Linked DNA regions of Homo sapiens: all the other regions are linked to region 1. The links are contacts of gene promoters, found by promoter capture Hi-C in blood cells and fetal thymus (Javierre and others, 2016). All regions are on one chromosome and are shown on one strand. The core of a region is centred on a gene start or on the middle of the fragment in contact, and the rest is flanking DNA. Distances in the headings are between cores, read along the strand shown. Region 1 holds the start of EPHX4 (epoxide hydrolase 4). Region 2 overlaps CDC7 (cell division cycle 7). Region 3 overlaps EVI5 (ecotropic viral integration site 5). Region 4 overlaps EVI5 (ecotropic viral integration site 5).

Region 1 (5,260 bases), core at 1,400-3,899:
TCCCAGATCATAAAACAAATTTAAAAGAATAGAGGTCATGTGGAGTATGTTCTTGGGCCATAATAGAATCAGATACAAGTCAATAATGGACTGCCAAGCACAGTACCTCATGCTTGTAGTCTCAGCACTTTGGGAGGCTAAAGTGAGAGGATTGCTTGAGGCCAGGAGTTCAAGACCAGCCTGATCAACATAGCAAGATCTCTATCTCTTAAAAATTTAATGTGTTATGAGTTAAGAGTTTGGAGGACTGAAAGTAATAATAGAAAAATTGCTAAACACATTAAAAACACAATGGGGCAAGGAGGAAGACAGGAATCTTTGTTTTTTTTTATTTATTTATTTTTTGAGACGGAGTCTCCCTTTGTCACCCAGGCTGAAGTGCAGTGGTGCAATCTCAGCTCCCTGCAATCTCTGCCTCCCGGGTTCAAGCAATTCTCATGCCTCAGCTTCCCAAGTAGTTTGGACTACAGGCGTGCACTACTATGCCTGGCTAATTTTTTTGTATTTTTAGTAGAGATGGGGTTTCAACATGTTGGCCAGGCTGGTCCAAAACTCCTGACCTCAGGTGATCTGACCAGCTCAGCCTCCCAAAGTGCTGGGATTACAGATGTGAGCCACCACCCCCGGCCCTGTTTTTTGTTTTGTTTTGTTTTGTTTTTCATTTTTTGAAACATAATCTCACTCTTTAACCCAGGCTAGAGTGCAGTGGCATGATTTTGGCTCACTGCAGCCTCAACCTTCCAGGGCTAAGGCGATCCTGCCACTTCAGCCTCCCAAGTAGCTGGGACTACAGGCGTGCACCACCACACCTGGCTAATTTCTCTATTTTTTGTAGAGACAGGGTTTTGCCATGTTGCCCACGCTGGTCTTGAATTGCTGAGCTCAAGCGATCCTCCTGCCTCAGCCTCCCAAAGTGCTGGGATTATAGGCGTAAGCCACAGCACCCAACCTAAAACAGGACATTTTAAAAAATACATAACAAATGGCAAAATACAACATATCAACACATATGTAATACGATTAAAGAGTACTGAGAGATGCCAGGCGCGGTGGCTCACACTTGTAATCCCAGCACTTAGGGAGGCTGAGGCGGGCGGTTCACGAGCTAACCTGGCTAACACGGTGAAACCCCGTCTCTACCAAAAATACAAAAAACTTAGCCGGGCATGGTGGCGGGCGCCTGTAGTCCCAGCTACTCAGGAGGCTGAGGCAGGAAAATGGCGTGAACCCGGGAGGCGGAGCTTGCAGTGAGCTGAGATGGAGATCGCGCCATTGCACTCCAGTCTAGGCGACAGAGTGAGACTCCGTCTCAAAAAATAAAATAAAAAGAGTACTGAGAGAAATGTATAGGTGCTAAATGATTGCATTAGAAATTGCAAAGGTCTCAATAAGTTCCTAACTCAAGACCCTAGAAAAAAAGAGCAAAATACAGTTAACCCTCAAACAACATGTGTTTGAACTGTGTAGGTCCACTTACACATGGATTTTCTTCCACCTCTTCCCTCCCCCTCACCCCAAGACAGGAAGATCAACCTCCCTTCTTCTTTCTCCTCCTCAGCTTACCTAACCTGATGATGACAAGGATGAACACTCTTAAGATAATCCACTTCCACTTAATGAATAGTAAATGTATTTTCTCTTCCTTATGATTTTAACATTTTTCTTAATTATAAAGATACAGTATGTAATACATAAACATATGTTAATTGTTTTGGTCAGTAGTAGGCTATTAGTACTTAAGTTTGGGGGAACTCAAAAGTTATACATGGATTTTCAGATGTGAAAGGGTTCAGCAACCCTAACCCCCCGCATTGTTCAAAGGTCAATTGTATAACTCACACATGCTGAAGTAAATTCAAAATTGTACAGCCACTTTGGAAACCAGTTTGACAGTTTCTCATAAAAAATGAACACTTAATACCTGACCCGGTGATTGGGAAAAGGCTTAATGAAATTCTAACAGTGAACTGGACGATAGAAGAGGTCAGGACAAGAGTGGCCATGTCGGTGCTGAGGCTGAGATACCTACCGAGGACTGTCACTCTCACGGCTTCCAGCCCTTCGACGAACTCTCAGGTGTGTGGCCTTCTGGCCAGGCTTCTGCCGCGTCACGTTGTTGAAGCATTCGTTGTATCCCTGGGGTTGCAGCTCTCTGTAAGTTTGCTGTGGCTGAACCAGGCAAGGCATAGGCGGATTTCTACAGAAATTATGATTCCACGAAAGATTTTGAGAAGAGGAAGGCTGGTATCTTTCAGAGTGCAGAGTGATTTTGCACTCTAAAGAATCTCTTTGGGTGTAATAGCATGGAAGTTTGTCGCTGACCTGTGTCCCTGAACTATGACACACGAATATGTGGGCTTAGAAATAGTTTTGCTTGATACATTGAGAACAACAAAGAAGACTGAGTGGCGCTACCTTCTTTGGTGCCCAGGATGGTTTGGGAAAGTCTCGCCTTCATCCTCCCCCACAGTTTTGCGATTTTGAAACGGGATCTCGCTCTCCGCGGAAGACAGCCAAGCTCTGCACCCCGGCCTGGCCCGCCGCACCCCGCAGGCCCGGCTCTCCCCTGCGCGCTCCGGGCTGGGCGCGGCGCGTGTGCGGAGCCGCCGCGGTGACACGGAACGCCGGCCGCCCCGGGCCGGGGGAGGCGCGCGTCGAGAGGCGACGGCGGGCTGGCCTGGCGCGCTGCGGCGCTCGCTCACCCGCTCCCGAGGAAGGGCAGTGGGCCCCGCCGCCGCCTCCCAATGGCGAGGCTGCGGGATTGCCTGCCCCGCCTGATGCTCACGCTCCGGTCCCTGCTCTTCTGGTCCCTGGTCTACTGCTACTGCGGGCTCTGCGCCTCCATCCACCTGCTCAAACTTTTGTGGAGCCTCGGCAAGGGGCCGGCGCAGACCTTCCGGCGGCCCGCCCGGGAGCACCCTCCCGCGTGCCTGAGCGACCCCTCCTTGGGCACCCACTGCTACGTGCGGATCAAGGTGAAGGGCCGCGCGGGCCTGGCGGGAGCGGGAGGGAGCGTGACCGCCGCGAGGGTGGGGGGCTCCGGGCTTCTCCTTCCGAGACGCTGGCTCAGCGTCCCCTAGTGTCCTGGCAGGAGGGGAGGAGGGGTTGGGTCCCTGTGTGTCGTGTGTGTGTGTGTGTGTGTGTGTGTGTGAGAGAGAGAGAGAGAGAGAGAGATACAGATAAACAGCACTCGGTCTTTGCAGGCACCTTGATTGGTTTCTGAATGTGGAACTTCTCTAATCAGGGGCCTCTTATATTACTGCCCCCCGGCGCCACAACAACCCAGAATAAACCTGCTCTTTTTCCTACTGCAAGGGGAAGCTGTCTCCTGTCACCCTTTTGCCCTTTAGAGCTCAGATCAGCTGTAGAGAATTGTTCCTCGTGGCATCCTAATGTCTCAGGAGGCTGTTCTTGCCCAATTTTAGAGATAATAAGAGTAAACAGTCAGTCTTTGGGAGTCATGAGTTTATTATGATCACAGACGACTTAGGTTGCATGAAACAATAAGTAAATTGTGTGTGTTGTGGGGAGGAATGCATACTTATGAAGTCAGGGACCAAAGAAAGGAATGGAATAAAAGGTAAATCCAGCCATGCCTGCAGACGCTAATTGTTCAAGCTTCCTCACAGCCCACAAATATTCTGTTTCCTGAGGCTCCAGGTGGTGAAGGGAAATAGTTCCCGTGATACACCCTGCAGTCTGACTCACAGGCCTTTCAAACCCAGCCTCATAAGAGGGGATGTTTATGTCACCAAGTCCTTATTTCCTGTTAGGAGCTAAATTGCCCCGCAGCTGAAGTTCAGAAGGGCAAGAGAACTTCTTTCTTGCCTGGGGTCGACATGAGAATTAAATAGGTTAATATTTATAAAAACAAACACGAAAAACTTAGAACAATGCCTGATGCATAGTCAGTGCAATAAAGTATCTGTTAATTAAATCCATTGCAGTGCCCATAACATTTAATCCTCCAAGACTCACCACCAATAAAAAAAGTTATTGAACCTCTAGGAAGCCATCGTGCAGCTGAGGGTAAAGTCAGATTTGTTATCTCTGTTCAACCTGAGGGGTAAAAGTAGTATAAGAACCATCTGGAATTCCATAAAACACTTTTCCCCTCGCTCTGGCCGCCTAAAGAGCTTCCCCAGAGACAGAGAACCGAGTGGAAAGAGCATTGTCCTGGGAGTTAGGACAAGATGGAGATTCTGGTCACAGCCCTGCTCTCAACCATTTTATGACTCATGTTACCATCTTTGGGCCTCATCTTCTGAATCTGCAAAATGATTCTTTCACATCTGAAAACTCAGTTGCTTGAGTTGCCTGCTATAAAAACCCAATGTCTGTGTTTAGCTTTTGGTTCTTTTTGTTTCCTAGCTTGCTTGCTTTCAGAGATTTTTATTCCTGCTGTTCCCTCTACTTTCCTCAATTCAGCCTGCTTAGTATTTGCTTGAATTCCTGACTCATTCCCATGTTTTTTTAATTTTCCTTGGGTTTTCTTGTCTCCTACATGCAGAGTGAAGTCTTGAGCACTCAGGGCATTCTCTTATTAGAAACGCACACTGACATGACATGAGCAGGCAGCAAGGGGAACAGAACATGCAACACTCAAAATAATAATGTGGGAAGGAGAGACCTAAAAATAAGAGAAGGAGGTGTGAATTATATAACTGATGGCACAGCTCTTGACGGGCAAGCTGAGAAAAGTAGATGACTAGGATGTAAACATGGCAGAAATATAAATTCAGATTAGAATTATTTACATGTCCTGCAGCATTTGAGGGAGATGAAATGTGACACATCAGTAAGATGAAAGTTACAAATGGTAAGATGAAAGTTACAAATTGTGACATTGCTTCAGAAGCTCATAATATATAAATTGACTGTACTAGAACAAGAAGAGAAGGTACTGTCAAGGGAGTGTTGACAAAGTGAATCTGTCAATTTACCCTATTAATAGGTCATGGGGTTTGCTTTTCTTTTTGAAAATTAATAAAAGTAAATATATTTCTTGATGTTAAAAATAAGGCAACTGAGTGTCATGAAGATATTGTAAATACACAAATGTTTTAAAATAAGGCAAGTTACTATTTTTTTAATGAAATGGAAATGCTAAATATATTGCTTTGTCAATCAACACAAACATCACTAAAATTCCATGCCCTCTACTTTCAGGATTCAGGGTTAAGATTTCACTATGTTGCTGCTGGAGAAAGAGGCAAACCACTTATGCTGCTGCTTCATGGATTTCCAGAATTCTGGTAAG
Region 2 (4,706 bases), core at 527-3,026, 520 kb before region 1:
ACTGGCTTCTCTACTCATTTTTTGGTATCTCTATTGTTTTCTTACTCAGGCTCAAAATCATAGAAATCACCTTTGTCCTATTTTCCTCTTTTATGAAGCAGTGTAACATAGTGATTAAGAACATATATCTGGAGCAAAATGCCTGGGTTCAAATCCTGGCTCATTGATCTATTAGTTTAGTGACCTTGATTTATTTATTACTGTTACCATCTTATCTGCTAAGTCTTATTAATCTTTTCCCTTTTTTCTCATTCTGCTGCTTCCCCAGTCACAACTATAATTACCTCGTTTGAATTATTATAGTAACTTCAAAACTGGTGCCATTTTTGTTTTAAAAGAAAACTTTAACACGAGAACACAAGTCACTTGTGTTTATATTATGTGATGATGATTTAAGTCAGTTTTCTAGCAATATGTATGCATTGCTAAAATTGCGGTTTTTAAAATTAGGCATAAAGTTTCAGTCCCTCTGACCTTTCTTCTAAAAGTTCCTTGTGCATTTTTCCACTAGGGGGCAAGATAATGTCATGGGAGTTAAATACTGCTTTAGGAAGAATGATCATGTAGTTATTGCTATGCCATATCTGGAGCATGAGTCGTTTTTGGTAGGTTTTAATATTTCTTGAATTTTTATTAGCTAAATATTTAATTGCAAACAATATTTGTAACTCATTTCATTTGTAACTTTGTTTTAGGACATTCTGAATTCTCTTTCCTTTCAAGAAGTACGGGAATATATGCTTAATCTGTTCAAAGCTTTGAAACGCATTCATCAGTTTGGTATTGTTCACCGTGATGTTAAGCCCAGCAATTTTTTATATAATAGGCGCCTGAAAAAGTAAGTATGAAGAGTTACTAGAAAATATTTATCCTATTTCTTTTAAAAAACAATTTTATTGTCTATATTTAAGGTATTGAACATGATGTTATATATAGTACAAAAGTTACTATTGTGAAGCAAATATTTATCTCAGTTACCCATCTTATTTTTGTTTTTACGGCAAGAGCAGCTAAAATTTACTCATTTAGTATGAATCTCATATACAGTACAGTTTTATTACCTGTAATCTTCAGAGTGTGCATTAGGTCTAGATTTATTTATCCTACATATCTGCTACTTTGTATCCTCTGACTTATATCTCTTAGATATAATATAACATACTGCAATAGCCATGCACAGATTATTTCTGTTTCAGTTTCTTTGTGATTGGAAAGGGAAATTTGGTGATGAAGAAGATAAAATTGTATTAGTGGAATAATGTACATTATTAGATGTACTATGGTTCAGTGGAAATAGCATGAACTAACAGACTTAGAGTCTAATAATTTTTGACCTTAGACATGTCTCTTATCTCTGGACTTCATTTTTCTTTTCTAGTAAGTGAGGGGATTGGACCACATGATAGCCAATTTCCTGTTTTAACACAAAAGTTTTATTTTTATGTATACTTTTTAATGCTGATTATAATTATAGAGAAATTATAAGCTAAAAATAACATAAATACCTCTATATAATGGATCATATTAAACATAATAATATTATAACTTCTTTTTTGAGCTTTTATATGCCTGACTTTTTAATTTTCTTTAATTGGATCAGATTTTAAAACCATGATTTTAATTTTTTTAAGCTTTCTTAACTAGAAATTATCTGCTATGATGCCATCTCTGCCACCATCAGAGAACAACGGACTGTGTTTATGTTATGTATTCCTCTTCTGCCTTATTAACACAGACCACTGGAAAAAGAAAATTTGATTGTGGGACAACTCTTAATTTTCAATCCTGGTTAGCTGTTAAATTCTTACTTTGTCTGGAAAACTTATTTTTTTTTCTTTTTTCCAGAATGTTATAAATTCCTAATTGATCCCAAAAAGAATTACAGTTTTTATGAGGATGGTTTGAGAGTATTACAATGTTACTAAGCTTTAATTGCTACAGATAAGTAAAAATGCTTAATTTTGTCTCTTAGGTATGCCTTGGTAGACTTTGGTTTGGCCCAAGGAACCCATGATACGAAAATAGAGCTTCTTAAATTTGTCCAGTCTGAAGCTCAGCAGGAAAGGTGTTCACAAAACAAATCCCACATAATCACAGGAAACAAGATTCCACTGAGTGGCCCAGTACCTAAGGAGCTGGATCAGCAGTCCACCACAAAAGCTTCTGTTAAAAGACCCTACACAAATGCACAAATTCAGATTAAACAAGGAAAAGACGGAAAGGTTCTATCTCTTTTATTTCTTAAGTACCGACACTGTTTTAGAAATATACTCCTTCAACCAACAGAGGGAGATAGAATACTAGGATAGTACTTATAATTTAAAAAACTTTTTTTTGCATTTGTTATATGTATTCATTTGATTAAATTTTCACTAAGATTTGTACTGAATCATTTTGGTTACTATTTTAAAACTAAAATTTACTTTGTCAGTTTATAACATCTGTCATTAACTATTATGAAATCATATTTTATGACAAAAATGGAAAATATTAAATTTTCCCTGCATGTTAAAAAGTTCAGATTAATTATCCTTTTTAAAAGAAAGCATTAGTTATAGGGGAGGAATTCTGAAGTGTCTATCTCCATTTTAGCTGCACAGCAAAATGTAACATCCATGCAGGTGGTTTTTGAATTTTTTTTTAGTTATATATATTTGTGGACTATGATAACATTGTATGGGTGTTGAGTTCTGTCTAGACTATTTTCTCCTTTCACAGAAGTGGTTTGGTGCCTGAGAATGACTTGGATGCAGCTGTTTTTGTTTCATCTCACTTAACTCTTTCAAAACTATGGCAGAGTACAGCTGGCAGAAAGTGTTACAGATATAATCCTTATTTTCCTTGTTTTTGTTGGTATTGTAGGAGGGATCTGTAGGCCTTTCTGTCCAGCGCTCTGTTTTTGGAGAAAGAAATTTCAATATACACAGCTCCATTTCACATGAGAGCCCTGCAGTGAAAGTAAGTAATGTAGCTTAATAGCATAATGGTCAGTCAGTCATACACTGAAGAGAATTTAGGTAATAACTAGATTAACATTTATTATCAGAAATTTTTTTAAACTAGAGTTTGGCTTTGGCAGAAGGTATTACTGCTTTAAGCATTTAGTCAAAACTTGTTTTCTCCAGTTTTTTTCTGAACTTTTCTGGTGGAATTTTTTCTCATTTTTGGTTAGCTATTACTGTCTTTCTCTAGAGGAACATTTAGAACATTAAGGGCTTTCTGTCATTGCTAGAGTGTGAGCTCCATACAGTTAGCTAACTATTCTGACACATAGTTGATAGTGTAAAGATGTTTGTAAAGTTAACAAAATCATCATCAATGTAGATGATTTCAGATTGACTTATGATATCTTGTGACAGCTAGACAGCATGAGCAACAAATTAAAACTGTGATTTTAGCCAACGTACTTGTGCAGTTTACAGTTCTGAAATGGAGTTAGACACTAGAACATAACTGTTTTATACTTCTGTAATATATCAGGAAAAGTTCTAATAAAGTATAACTCAAATATTGGCCAAGCTAGGACTAATTAGTAAATTTTAATATAAGGTGACTTTACAGAAAAACCCAAGAAGACCTTAAACATTTTAATAGACAACAGTTTATTTACAGTCCAATAGCCATTCAGCAGTTTTTAAAGTTATGCTTCCGCTATTGCTTTTTGCCATACTAGCATTTTAGGACATCATGTTTAATATCATGAAAATAGAAAAATGAGACTTTTCTTTTACAGCTCATGAAGCAGTCAAAGACTGTGGATGTACTGTCTAGAAAGTTAGCAACAAAAAAGAAGGCTATTTCTACAAAAGTTATGAATAGTGCTGTGATGAGGAAAACTGCCAGTTCTTGCCCAGCTAGCCTGACCTGTGACTGCTATGCAACAGATAAAGTTTGTAGTATTTGCCTTTCAAGGTAATGTGTTTTGATGGTGTTATAAAATCACCAGCATGCTGCCATTAGAAATTGCATTGACTTGGGTGGATAATTTTGTGAGTGCAAGGGATCAGTTCAGATCAGTGAACTGCAATGGGCCTTGATGCAGAGCAGTAGTATGTTGAAGAGCAAATGATAACAGTTTTCATATATTATTTATTTAATATGGATATACTCTGGAAAACACATTTGCTCTTATATGCAAATAAGTGGGACGGGGTGGCTTTTAGAAGCTTAGAATCACACATTTTGATTGCTGATGTAGTCTTTTCTGTTTTCTCTTTTTATTCCCGCTTATGTGGAGTAACCAGAACCAAATAGTAGAGCTCCTCTTTTACTCCCACCTCCAACTCTTTGACTCATAAATTTCTTCCTTTCCTTCAAGGCTTGGCTTTCATAAAGCCTTTCTTGATTAACTCAAATATATAAGTGTATCTGTGATCAATTACTCCAAACAAATGAATTTTTATACCTGTGAATTGCTATTGGGTTCTATTTTTTCTATTATGGCTCTTATTATCCACTACTGCTTTTTATTCTTGGAGGTTATTTTAAACCTTTCTGGAGTAAGTCCGGGGAACTAGTAGAGGGGGTAAAAAACAGAAGAAGAAAAATCTAGGATTTTTATCACACTAGATTATCATTTACTTTATAGTAACACTTATTATATAGGTATCAAGGCAAAATTTACTGTGAACTAAATTGATGAATGTTATTTTTTAGACTTACATAGTTCAACTTTAACATAACTAGAGAAATCTTATTTCATCATA
Region 3 (5,323 bases), core at 1,091-3,590, 580 kb after region 1:
TTATTTTGTATTTTTTGTAGAGAGGGAGTCTCACTTTGTTTGTCAGGTTGGTTTCAAACTCTTGGGCTCAAGATCTGCCTGCCTCAGCCTCCCAAAGTGCTGAGATTACAGGCATGAGTCATTACACCTGATGAACAAAAAATTTTTTAAGTTAAAAAAAAATTAAGGCTGGGCGCAGTGGCTCATGCTTGTAATCCCAGCACTGTGGAAGGCAGAGGTGGGCGGATCACTTAAGCCCAGGAGTTCGAAACCAGCCTGGCCAGCAAAGGGAGACCTCATTGCTACTAAATAAATAAATAAATAAATAAATAAGCTGGGTGTGGTCATGTGTGCCTGTAGTCCCAGGTACTCGGGAAGCTGATGAGGACTGCTTGAGCCAGGAGTTGGAGTCTGCAGTGAGCTATGACTGTGCCACTAAACTCCGGTCTGGGCAACAGAGTGAGATCCTGCCTCAAAAAAAAAAAAAATTAAAACATTTGTGTTAAAAACTAAGATATTAGCTTAGGCCTACACAGGGTCAGCACCACCAATATCACTATCTTCAACCTCCACATCTTGTCCCACTGGAAGGTCTTCAGGGACAATAACACACATGAAGCTGTCATCTCCTATGAAAACAATGCCTTCTGGAAAACCTCCTGAAGGATCTGAGACTGTCTTAGAGTTAACTCTTGTTTTGTATAAGTAGAATTAGACTCTAAAATAGCAATATTAGTATAGCAAAACAACAAATAGTATAGCAAACATATGAACCAGTAACATAGTCATTTATTATCAAGTATTATGTGCTATACACAACTGTACGTGCTACACTTTTATAAGAGTGGCAGTGCAGTGGGTTTGTTTATACCAGCCTCATCACAAACACATGAGTAATGTGTTGCACTATAACATAATGATGGCTATAGTCACTAGGCAAAAGGAATTTTTCAGCTTCATTATCATCCTATGGGACCATTACCATATATGCTGTCCGTCACTGAAATGTCCTTATGCAGCATATGACTGTATTGTATGATCCCACTTATATGAGGTAACCAGAGTGGTCAAACTCATAGAGACAAAGTAGAATGGTGGTTTCCAGTTGCTGGTGGTTGCCAGTTGCTGGGGAATGGGAAGTTAGTGTTTAATGGGCAAAGAGGTTCAGTTAGGGAGGATGAAAAAGTTCTGGATATGGATGGTGGTGATGGCTGCACAACAGTGTCAAATATACTTAATGCTGCAGAACTGTATACTTTAAAATGGTAAGTTTTATGTCTATTTTACCACAATAAAAAAAAATTGGAAATGAATGATTACTGAAAAAAGAATCACAGTCACGAGGATAAAGAGTAAGTTACTGTTCAGACAAAGAGGATAGAAGAAACTATATTTTTACATGTACTTTATTATTTTCATATGGTACCTGGATTTCAAGCTCAGCAATGTGTTGTCGTAGTTCAGCCACAGCAGCTATGCTATCTGCTTCCCGAAGCCTCACAGCCATCACTTCTTCCTTATTCTAGTGTGGTAAACCAAACCGAAACAAAATAAACCAGGTGTGTTTGGAATTCAGATTTTAGAAAAGTAATAGGTTGCATAAACCATACGTTAAGTATTATCTAGCAGGGTCTAAGGCAGCATCCATAATGAAACAATATGCTCAATACATACAACGAAGCAGTGAGATATAAATGTTCACATCAAGTGGAATAAATAACAATTATAAATGGCCATATATCAATTCAAATTAAGTTTTGCCTCCAAAGGAATTTGTGTGAAATTTATGAAAAAACTCCAGGGTTTTAGAGTGTTTTGCATTTTGAAACTGGGGTTCACAGGCTTGTAATATTTCAACTTTAAGTGAGAACATTCAAATTAAGTTGAGAGGGAAAATAACATTAATATTATAAACAATATCCACACATTTTACACAACTAAAAATAAAAAAGCTTTAATAATTATAAATTAATCATAAGCTATAATATTATAATACTAAATGAAAATGAATCAGATTTACATAATTCACGGACTGGCTTTCTTGAAAAATTAACTTTGTTCCCGAATTATTCCAACATAACAGGGTAAAACATACACATTTAATCAGAATGTACTAGGTGCTAGGGTAACAATACATTGGTCATTCTCAAAACCTGCAAAGGCATCACGAAAGATTGAATAAATTAACACACAGCTTAAACACAGGGGAGATATCAGAGTTTGCATCTGTAACATACTTCACAGAGGTATTAATGAACAATTAAAAATTAAATAAAATCCCATATTAGTTCATAAAATCCTCTAATATTCTAAATCTGAGCCCATTACTTAGACAAGTTCAAAGAAAATTATTATTTTCAACAGCAAGTTCCTCAAAGATTTATTTCCAAAGAACACTTTACTTTGCTCAACAGGTACTAAGGCATTTGAGGAGCAATATTTAATCTAGTAACACCATTATCAAAATATGTTTAAGGAAAACTAACACCAATAATAAATAAAAGATTAAATTTAGTTATCTATAAGATGTCAACACAGACAATTTAGCATCATAAAAACTCAATCAGATATTGGTATGACAAATCAGACTGATACAACCTCATTTAATATTATTTTATTTATAGTTTAGTCATATCCTTCAAAAGTGACTGTGCTTTTAGTAGGAATTTCAGTACTGCCTACAGATTTCTGTCAGTATACATTGTAACAGCCATGCATATTTATAAGGATGTAATTTCATCTCTGGATTTCAGTGACACTGATAAACCATTCAAGCTTCACTCTTGGTTTTTAATGTCACCAGAATAAGCTGATGGAATTACAGCTTTACATGTGCCATCAAAAGTCTTATTTCTTATACAATAATAAGGCTGGAATCTTTAAAGGGCATCATTCCTACTATCTCACCATGGAAAGGTGGATGCCTAGTTTATTTTTTTAAATCCCATAACTTGCCTTTAGTAATCCATTCTAATGCCCAGTCTACAGTCATCTCTTTAGTTATTTCACACACACACACACACACACACACACACACACACACCCCCCCAAACCCTCCCTCCTCTCCTTCCATCTCACTGCCTTTCCCCCACTCTCTCACCACTGCTATATTGTAAATTTATTTCAGGAAAGAATGTACTTGCATTCAAATACTTTTGATGCTTTTTGAATCCAAACACTTCACAAAAAAGTAAAGTATATAACTGATTAAAATAATAATGGGTAATATACCCATTTTTCCCAACACACTGGTACATACACATTTCTTTTGCTCTCTAGTCTATCCAGAAAACATGTATCAATGTTATTAACATTACTGCCCACTAATAAGATACCAATCAAAGCAGAGGAGCCCTAACCTCTCTAAATGACCCATCTTTTTTGATCAAGCCATTAAAAGCTCTGGTTTTAAAGGGTTACCAGTCAAAAGAAAAACTGTAAAGAAATACTAGTAAATGCCAATCCAGGAAATTAAATTAACCAAGGAAGTGACTGAAAATGTTTCTTGACTAAAATCCACCCCAGAAGCAAGATGAGCTGACCTGGTCTGAAAGCAACTACCAAAACAAGTTCAGGAAAAGTAGAAAATAGGACGAGCTTTTTTGTTTTGTTTTTAAGATAATCTAATCACGATAAAACAAACAAAAAAAAGGCATTATTATATTGACAAAAAACAAAATCAGTTAGTTGACATATTTACCTTGCATTCAATCTCTGCTTGTTTACGCTTTGCTTCACTTAATTGAGTAAGGAGTCCTTTGTTCTGTGCAGAAAGATACTGCACTTTCTCCTGTAGGCTAATCACCTCTTGTTCTGCTCTTCGAAGATGGTTACTATTGATCTGGTTCTAATAATCAGAAATATAAATACTGAGACTATAGATACAAGACCTAAAAATTAAAAAAAATTACCTATCCATTTTATACCATAACATTATTAAAAATGTTACTAGTTATAGGTCACTGTTATTCAACAAAATCAACATTAAAAAATAAGATAAAACTGCCTTTAAAATCAAGTCATTCAAGGCTGAGGCGGGCGGATCACAAGGTCAGGAGATCAAGACCATCCCGGCTAACGCGGTGAAACCCCGTCTCTACTAAAATTACAAAAAAAAAAAATTAGCCAGGCATGGTGGCGGGCACCTGTAGTCCCAGGTACTCGGGAGGCTGAAGCTGGAGAATGGCGTGAACCCAGGAGGTGGAGCCTGCAGTGAGCGGAGACTGAGCCACTGCACTCCAGCCTGGGCGACAGAGCGAGACTCCGTCTCAAAAAAAAAAAATTAAAAATAAATAAATAAATAAATAAAATCAAGTCATCCAAAGGAATGCATACTGTCAATATTAGAGACTCTCAATATAGCTCAATATACCATTTATACAAAAAATAGGTGTAAACTATAAAAATTCTTATACACAACTTGAAGGTATTCCTTTCTAAGATTGGCAATGGGAGTACAAAATGGATAGATACAGGAATGGTGAGTTTAATTCCTCTTTCCAGTTCCAGAAAGAAAGCACAAACCAGTCAAAAGGTACCATCATGGCCAGTGCAGTGGCTCATGTCTAATCCCAGCATTCTGGGAGACCAAGGTGGGCAGATCACTTGTGGCCAGGAGTTTGGGACCAACTTGGCCAAAATGGTGAAACCCCGTATCTACTAAAAATACAAAAATTAGTCAGGCATGGTGGTGCACGTCTATAATCCCAGGTACTTGGGAGGCTGAGGCACAAGAATCACTTGAACCCAGGAGGCAGAGGTTGCAGTGAGCTGAGATCACACAACTGCACTCTAGCCTGGGTGACAAGAAGACTCTGTCTCAGAGAAAAAAAAAGGAAAGGAAAAAAAAAAGGTACCATCACTATTTATTGGGCTGTAAACTTGATGTCACACAATACGGCATATGTGTATTTCTACATGCTCTCAATGTCTAGCACAGTCTCTTTTTATGAAGCACACAGATTTTGAATCCTGGTTTTAATATTTGGTCATTAAGCAAACAAGCTAGTATCTCTGAGTCTCTATTTCCTTATTTGAAAAATGCATATAAAATAGTTTCTATTTCTCAGTTTGGTGTCTTCAGAATTAAATGAGATAATATGCGTAACAGGGCCTAAATATGTAGCAATAAATGCTAGCTGTTTATTGTATTATAATTACAGAATGTGCTAAAAAAACATATAGACCTTGAACTAACATGAGGTAGTTTTCACACTCAGGTATGACCCAGCCAGAATTCTCTCAACCCGAAATTATTCTATCAGAGGCCTGAAAGAAATAGTAGGGACTTTCATAACAGAAAGAAGTAAAAATCTAACTTCTCATTTAACAGTTCTTAAAACTT
Region 4 (5,241 bases), core at 2,733-5,232, 620 kb after region 1:
GACATCTTAACATTAAGACTTCCAATATACAAATACGAGATAGATTTTCACTTATTTATATCTTCTTTATTTTGACAAATGAGTAAACATCCTTTTTTTCAGAGTACAAGTTTTCAGAGTACAAGTCTTTACCTTCTTGGTTAAATTTATTCTTATGCATTTTATTCTTTTGGAAGCTACTGTGAATGGACTTTTTTTCTTAATTTCCTTCTCTAGTTATTCATTGCTGGCGCATTCTTTTACTTTTAACCTAACAAGATCTTTGTATTTAAAGCAAATTTCTTACAGATATGTTTTAACTTTTTATCCAATCTTATAATTGGTATATTTAAAATACATTTAATATAATTATTGATATGGTTGGAATAAAATCTATAATCTTCCAAATTTTCTATCTGATCCACTTACTTGCTGTTCCTTTTTTCTTTTTCCTGATTAAATAATTTCTTAAATTACTCAATTTTATCTCTGTTATTTGCTACCTAATTATATATTTTTCTCTAAAAAAATTTTAGGTGGTTTCCCTATGGTTTATAAATATACATTTTACTGTTCCTTGAAAACCACAAATTTATTCCTTGATAAAGGCCTTTCTACTAAGTGTATGCTCTATCTGGAATGTTTCTTCCCAGATCTTCAAATAGTTTCCATCTTCATATCATTGAGTCTCTGGTCAAATCTTAGCTCCTCAGGGAAGCTCTCCAAAACTAGCTTACCTACAGTAGCACCTGCACAAACCACCTCTCCTCTGCTTTATTTTTATTTTTCTTCATCACCTTATTACCACCTGAAATTGTATCTGTTTAATGTGTCTCCCCAACTAGAACACTTCACGTAACAGCAGTCTTCGTTTTTCTTGTTTACTATTATCGTACCCTCTGCACTTAAGACAATACTTTGCACATTAGTTTTCAAATAAATATATGAATAAGTTCATTCCATTATAAGATTAACACATATAGGACTAAGGAAAATACAAAGTATTTACACAAATTGAACCTGATATATTTACAATAAATTACAGAATAAAGAAATTAGTTGTTATCTTTCCCATGACTAAATTGGCCGCTACTTATATTTGGAGAAAAGGAGAAAGAGAGGAACCATAAACAAAATCTCGGTCAAAAAATTATTTAAATGTCTATTTGATATAGTCTTTGCATTGAAAGAATTTTAAAGTTAAAAAAAGATTTGAACCACAATGAGATACTACCCCACACCTACTAGGATAGCTATTACTTAACAAACAAAAATCAGAAAATAACAACAGTTGGCAAGGATATTAAGAAATTGGGGGCCGGGCGCAGTGGCTCACGCCTGTAATCCCAGCACTTTGGGAGGCCGAGGCGGGCGGATCACGAGGTCAGGAGATCGAGACCATCCCGGCTAAAACGGTGAAACCCCGTCTCTATTAAAAATACAAAAAATTAGCCAGGCGTAGTGGCGGGCGCCTGTAGTCCCAGCTACTTGGGAGGCTGAGGCAGGAGAATGGCGTGAACCCGGGAGGCGGAGCTTGCAGTGAGCCGAGATCCCGCCACTGCACTCCAGCCTGGGCGACAGAGCGAGACTCCGTCTCAAAAAAAAAAAAAAAAGAAAGAAATTGGAACCCTTGTACACTGCTTGTGGGAATGGAAAGTGGTACAGTTGCTATAGATAAGTCTGACACAACCTCAAAAAATTAAACATAAAATTACATATGATCCAGCAACTCTACTTCTAGGTATATGCTTAAAAGAATTAAGAGCAGGAACTTAAACAGATACTTATAGGGCAATGTTCATAGCAACATTATCCACAATAGCTAAAAGGCAGAAATAACCCAAATGTCCATCAACAAACAAACGGATGAACAAAACGTAGTATATACATACTATGGAATTTTATCAGCCATAAAAATGAATGAGATTCTGATACCTGTTATAACAATGATGGACTTTGAAAACATCATGCTTAGTGCAATAAGCCACACACAAAAGGACAAATATTATGTGCTTCCACTTAAATAAGCTACCCAGAATAAGCAAATTCATAGAGACAGAAAGTAGAACAGAGGTTACCGGAGGCTGGGAAGATGGGAAAAGATTATTGTTACTAGATACAGAGCTTCTGTTTCAGACAATGAAAAGGTTCTATAAATGAACAGTGGAGATGGCTGCACAATATTATAAATGTACTTAATGACACTGAACTGTACACTTAAATGGTAAATTTTAGGTTGTATATATTTTATCACAATGAAAAAAATCAGATCCAACAATCCCACTGCTGGCTCCAAAAGAAATAAAATCAGTATGTTGAAGAGGTATCTGTACTCCCACATTTATTGCAACACTACTCACAAAAGCTAAGATATGGAATCAACCTAAATATCCATCAACAGACAAACGGATAAGGGAAATGTGGTGTGTATGCACAATCAAATACTATTCTTGGGGAGAGGGTTCGAGATGAATGACTAGAGGTGTCCAATGCCAGTTCTCTTCAGAAAGAAGAACCAAGGTTACAAGTGAATAACCATAATGTGAATAGACTATCCAGAGAATGCTGGAGGCTAGTAGAGAACTCATGTGAAGAAGCTGGGGCACAGAAAAAGAAGGAAGCAAGAAGCTGGCAGAGATCGGCTAGGAACCCCGAGGGATTTGGTATCTAGTCAAAAGGGTAGTTGGGAGTGTTTGGGCTCCTCTTTAACCTGTGACAAACCACTGGTAACTGAACTGTCGGAGATCTCCTCTACCCTGCAAACCCAAACACTGGTGTGGGCAGTGATTTGGGGACTTCTTGAGGGCACTGCACCAGATTACCAACTTGCACTGGGTTGCTCACTCTGCCCCCGGACTTGAGCAGCAGCGATAGGGTGCTATACTGGGAGCACAGCCATCAGGGGTCTGTACCCTGCCCAGGGAACCTCAGCCTTTGTGTCTCCACATCACCAGAGCCCCATAGACATTCCCTGGCATCTGCTCAGATTGTGGCAGCAGCAAAGGGATGGCTGGACCCAGGGAGCTGCAGGGTTCCTCGGCAACTGCTGCCCCGAAGAGAAGAACAAGTATTGCACGCCAAGGGAGCACCCACTGGGACAAAGGAAACCAGAACACATACTTTCCTGTGCCCAAGAGCTCACCACCTGTGGACTCTGAGTGACTGCACTGCCTCCAGCAAAGATGTGGGCACTGTGCTTGGCTCTACAAGGCTTTGCAAGTGTGATTTCATCCCAGGGGCCAACCTAGTATGAGTGCTCAGACCCAGGCATGGAGATGGGGACTCCTCCTCAACCCCACTGCTGTAGGCATAGCCATGGCTGATACCACAGGAAACTGGCATGGGTGCATCAGAGCACACAGACTTTCTGGGGCAGACAGGGGTGACTGTGGTCTTACTGGCAATCAGTCCACCATATCTAAGCTTGTGCAAAAGGTGGGACCCCCTCCCCCTCTCCATGCAGAGCAGCAGCGTTCCTGCAAGGGAGAGGAGAGCCAAAAAGCTGTGTGTTTTGGACTGAGGAAGAAGACTCCAAAACAAAGACATTCTGGCAGCAAGCCAAGGGGCAGTCATCTTTTATGGCTCTCAGGTACATTGCAGCCTGGAGATAGACAGTGGTGTCTGACCAATTTGAGTGTTCTGAGTTTGGGGACAGGGGCATGACAGGGAGAGAGATTACATTCCTGCCTGCCCGGGCTATGGAACTGGGGTGGCTCCCTGCCTCTCTGCAGAGACCTCAGTGTACTTACCAGGAGCTTCCCTGCCACCCCCACTCAGGTCTTCTGCTTGTGCTCATCATTGGGGAATCCAAGGGCCGGCTTGGCTGTCCATCTCTGCCCTGACTTGTCCCCTGCTAGGGGGTGAGCAGAGAGCTCAAGCCACTGTACATTCCACAGCCCAGCCCATTGCCTGAAGCAACAAAGAACTTCCCCCATTAAACAAAGATCAAGCACCTGTCCATCTGCTTCTGTTGCAGCAGGCTCTTACCCACAACCACCACCTACTGTCCTGGAGGCTGAAATGCACAACCCAACAGAAAATCTGCTGACACAAGTGCACAGTGCTGGGAAATGAGATAAGATTCTTGAGACTTCCGCCATCCCAGCCCTGCAGGAAGCTGTGATACTACTCACACAGCCAGTACACTACTACTACAACTAGCATTTGAGAAAACCACCACACAAAGGCTATCTATATTCAAAGAACTCATACATTCTGCCAAGGAAGCACCCAGAACATACATTGTAGTTATATCCTTCAGAGGAAAAAAATTCCTGTCCAAATGAAAGTAAATTCAAAAATAAGAAGAAAAGATAAGTTTCTCCATATGAGAAGGAAACAGCCAAACAATTCTGGAAGTATAAAGACAGTGTTATGACATTCTCAAAAGATCACACTAAATCTCTAGCAATAGATCCTAACTAAAATGAAATCTCTGAAATACCATATAAAGAATTAAAAATACTGATTTCCAAGAAGCTCAATGAGATCTAAGAGAAAGCTGAATGAAAATCAACACCAAGAAATCTGAAAATCAAGTCTGGAAATGAAAAATTCATTGAAGAAATTATAAAATACAGGTAAAAGCTTTAACAGTAGACTAAACCCAGCAGAAAAAACAATCTCAGAGCTTAAAGACAGGTCTATTGAATTAGTCCAGTCAGACGAAAATAAAGAAAAAATAATTTTCAAAAATGAACAAAGCCTTTGAGAAGTATAGGGGTTATATAAAATGTCTAAACCTACAAGTCATAGGTATTCCTGAGGGAGATGAAAAAGCAAAAAGTTTGGAAAACCTATCTGAGGAAGTAATTGAGGAAAACTCCCTACTCTTGCTAGAGATTTAGACATCCAAATAGAAGATGCTCAGAGAACTCTAGGAAAATACAGTGCAAGAAGGACTTCACCAACACATATACTCATCAGACTAATGACAACATGAAGGAAAAAAAAAAATCCTAAAATCAGCAAGAGAAAGGTGTCTAATCATCAGTAAAGGAAATCCCCTCAGACTAACAGTGGACATACTGGCAGAAACTTTACAAGCCAGAAAAAAAATCACAATCCCATTTTAAGACTTATTAAAGAAAAAAAAAAACCTGTCAACCATGAATTTTTTATCCTGCTAGAACAAGCTTCATAAATGGAGAAAAAGTCTTTCCCAGACAAGCAAATGCTAACAGAATTCATCACCATTAGACCAGCCTTACAAGAAATGTTCAAGTGAGTTCTAAACATGTAAACAAAAGGTCAATACTCAAC

The links. The method cuts DNA at HindIII sites, captures the fragments that hold promoters and counts their contacts. A CHiCAGO score of 5 or more calls a contact.
Region 2: a fragment that was not itself captured here is called in contact with the fragment with the promoter of EPHX4 in region 1 in 1 of 17 cell types (endothelial precursors); the score reaches 5.4 in endothelial precursors.
Region 3: a fragment that was not itself captured here is called in contact with the fragment with the promoter of EPHX4 in region 1 in 3 of 17 cell types (total CD8 T cells, fetal thymus and total CD4 T cells); the score reaches 7.2 in total CD8 T cells.
Region 4: a fragment that was not itself captured here is called in contact with the fragment with the promoter of EPHX4 in region 1 in 1 of 17 cell types (fetal thymus); the score reaches 5.1 in fetal thymus.

Annotation. Positions count from the first base shown.
Region 1 is chr1:92,027,336-92,032,595 of GRCh38, forward strand. It overlaps EPHX4 (epoxide hydrolase 4), which reads left to right and starts at 2,650. Exons shown (of 7, transcript NM_173567.5): 1 at 2,650-2,975; 2 at 5,170-5,255. The coding sequence starts at 2,745. It overlaps LOC124904218 (a long non-coding RNA gene), which reads right to left and starts at 3,052. Exons shown (of 2, transcript XR_007066222.1): 1 at 2,030-3,052. RefSeq lists an enhancer at 2,349-2,850. The HindIII fragment of the contact is 12,008 bases long and covers 1-3,616 here.
Region 2 is chr1:91,511,086-91,515,791 of GRCh38, forward strand. CDC7 (cell division cycle 7) reads left to right here. Exons shown (of 12, transcript NM_003503.4): 5 at 512-605; 6 at 696-838; 7 at 1,973-2,222; 8 at 2,863-2,958; 9 at 3,734-3,912. Among named protein-coding and RNA genes, the nearest start is that of CDC7, 13 kb to the left of the region's middle. The HindIII fragment of the contact is 295 bases long and covers 1,630-1,924 here.
Region 3 is chr1:92,603,902-92,609,224 of GRCh38, forward strand. It overlaps EVI5 (ecotropic viral integration site 5), which reads right to left. Exons shown (of 20, transcript NM_001350197.2): 17 at 3,680-3,826; 18 at 1,406-1,501. Among named protein-coding and RNA genes, the nearest start is that of GFI1, 120 kb to the left of the region's middle. The HindIII fragment of the contact is 823 bases long and covers 1,930-2,752 here.
Region 4 is chr1:92,650,275-92,655,515 of GRCh38, forward strand. The region is part of intron 13 of EVI5 (ecotropic viral integration site 5); the gene reads right to left. Among named protein-coding and RNA genes, the nearest start is that of EVI5, 130 kb to the right of the region's middle. The HindIII fragment of the contact is 1,164 bases long and covers 3,401-4,564 here.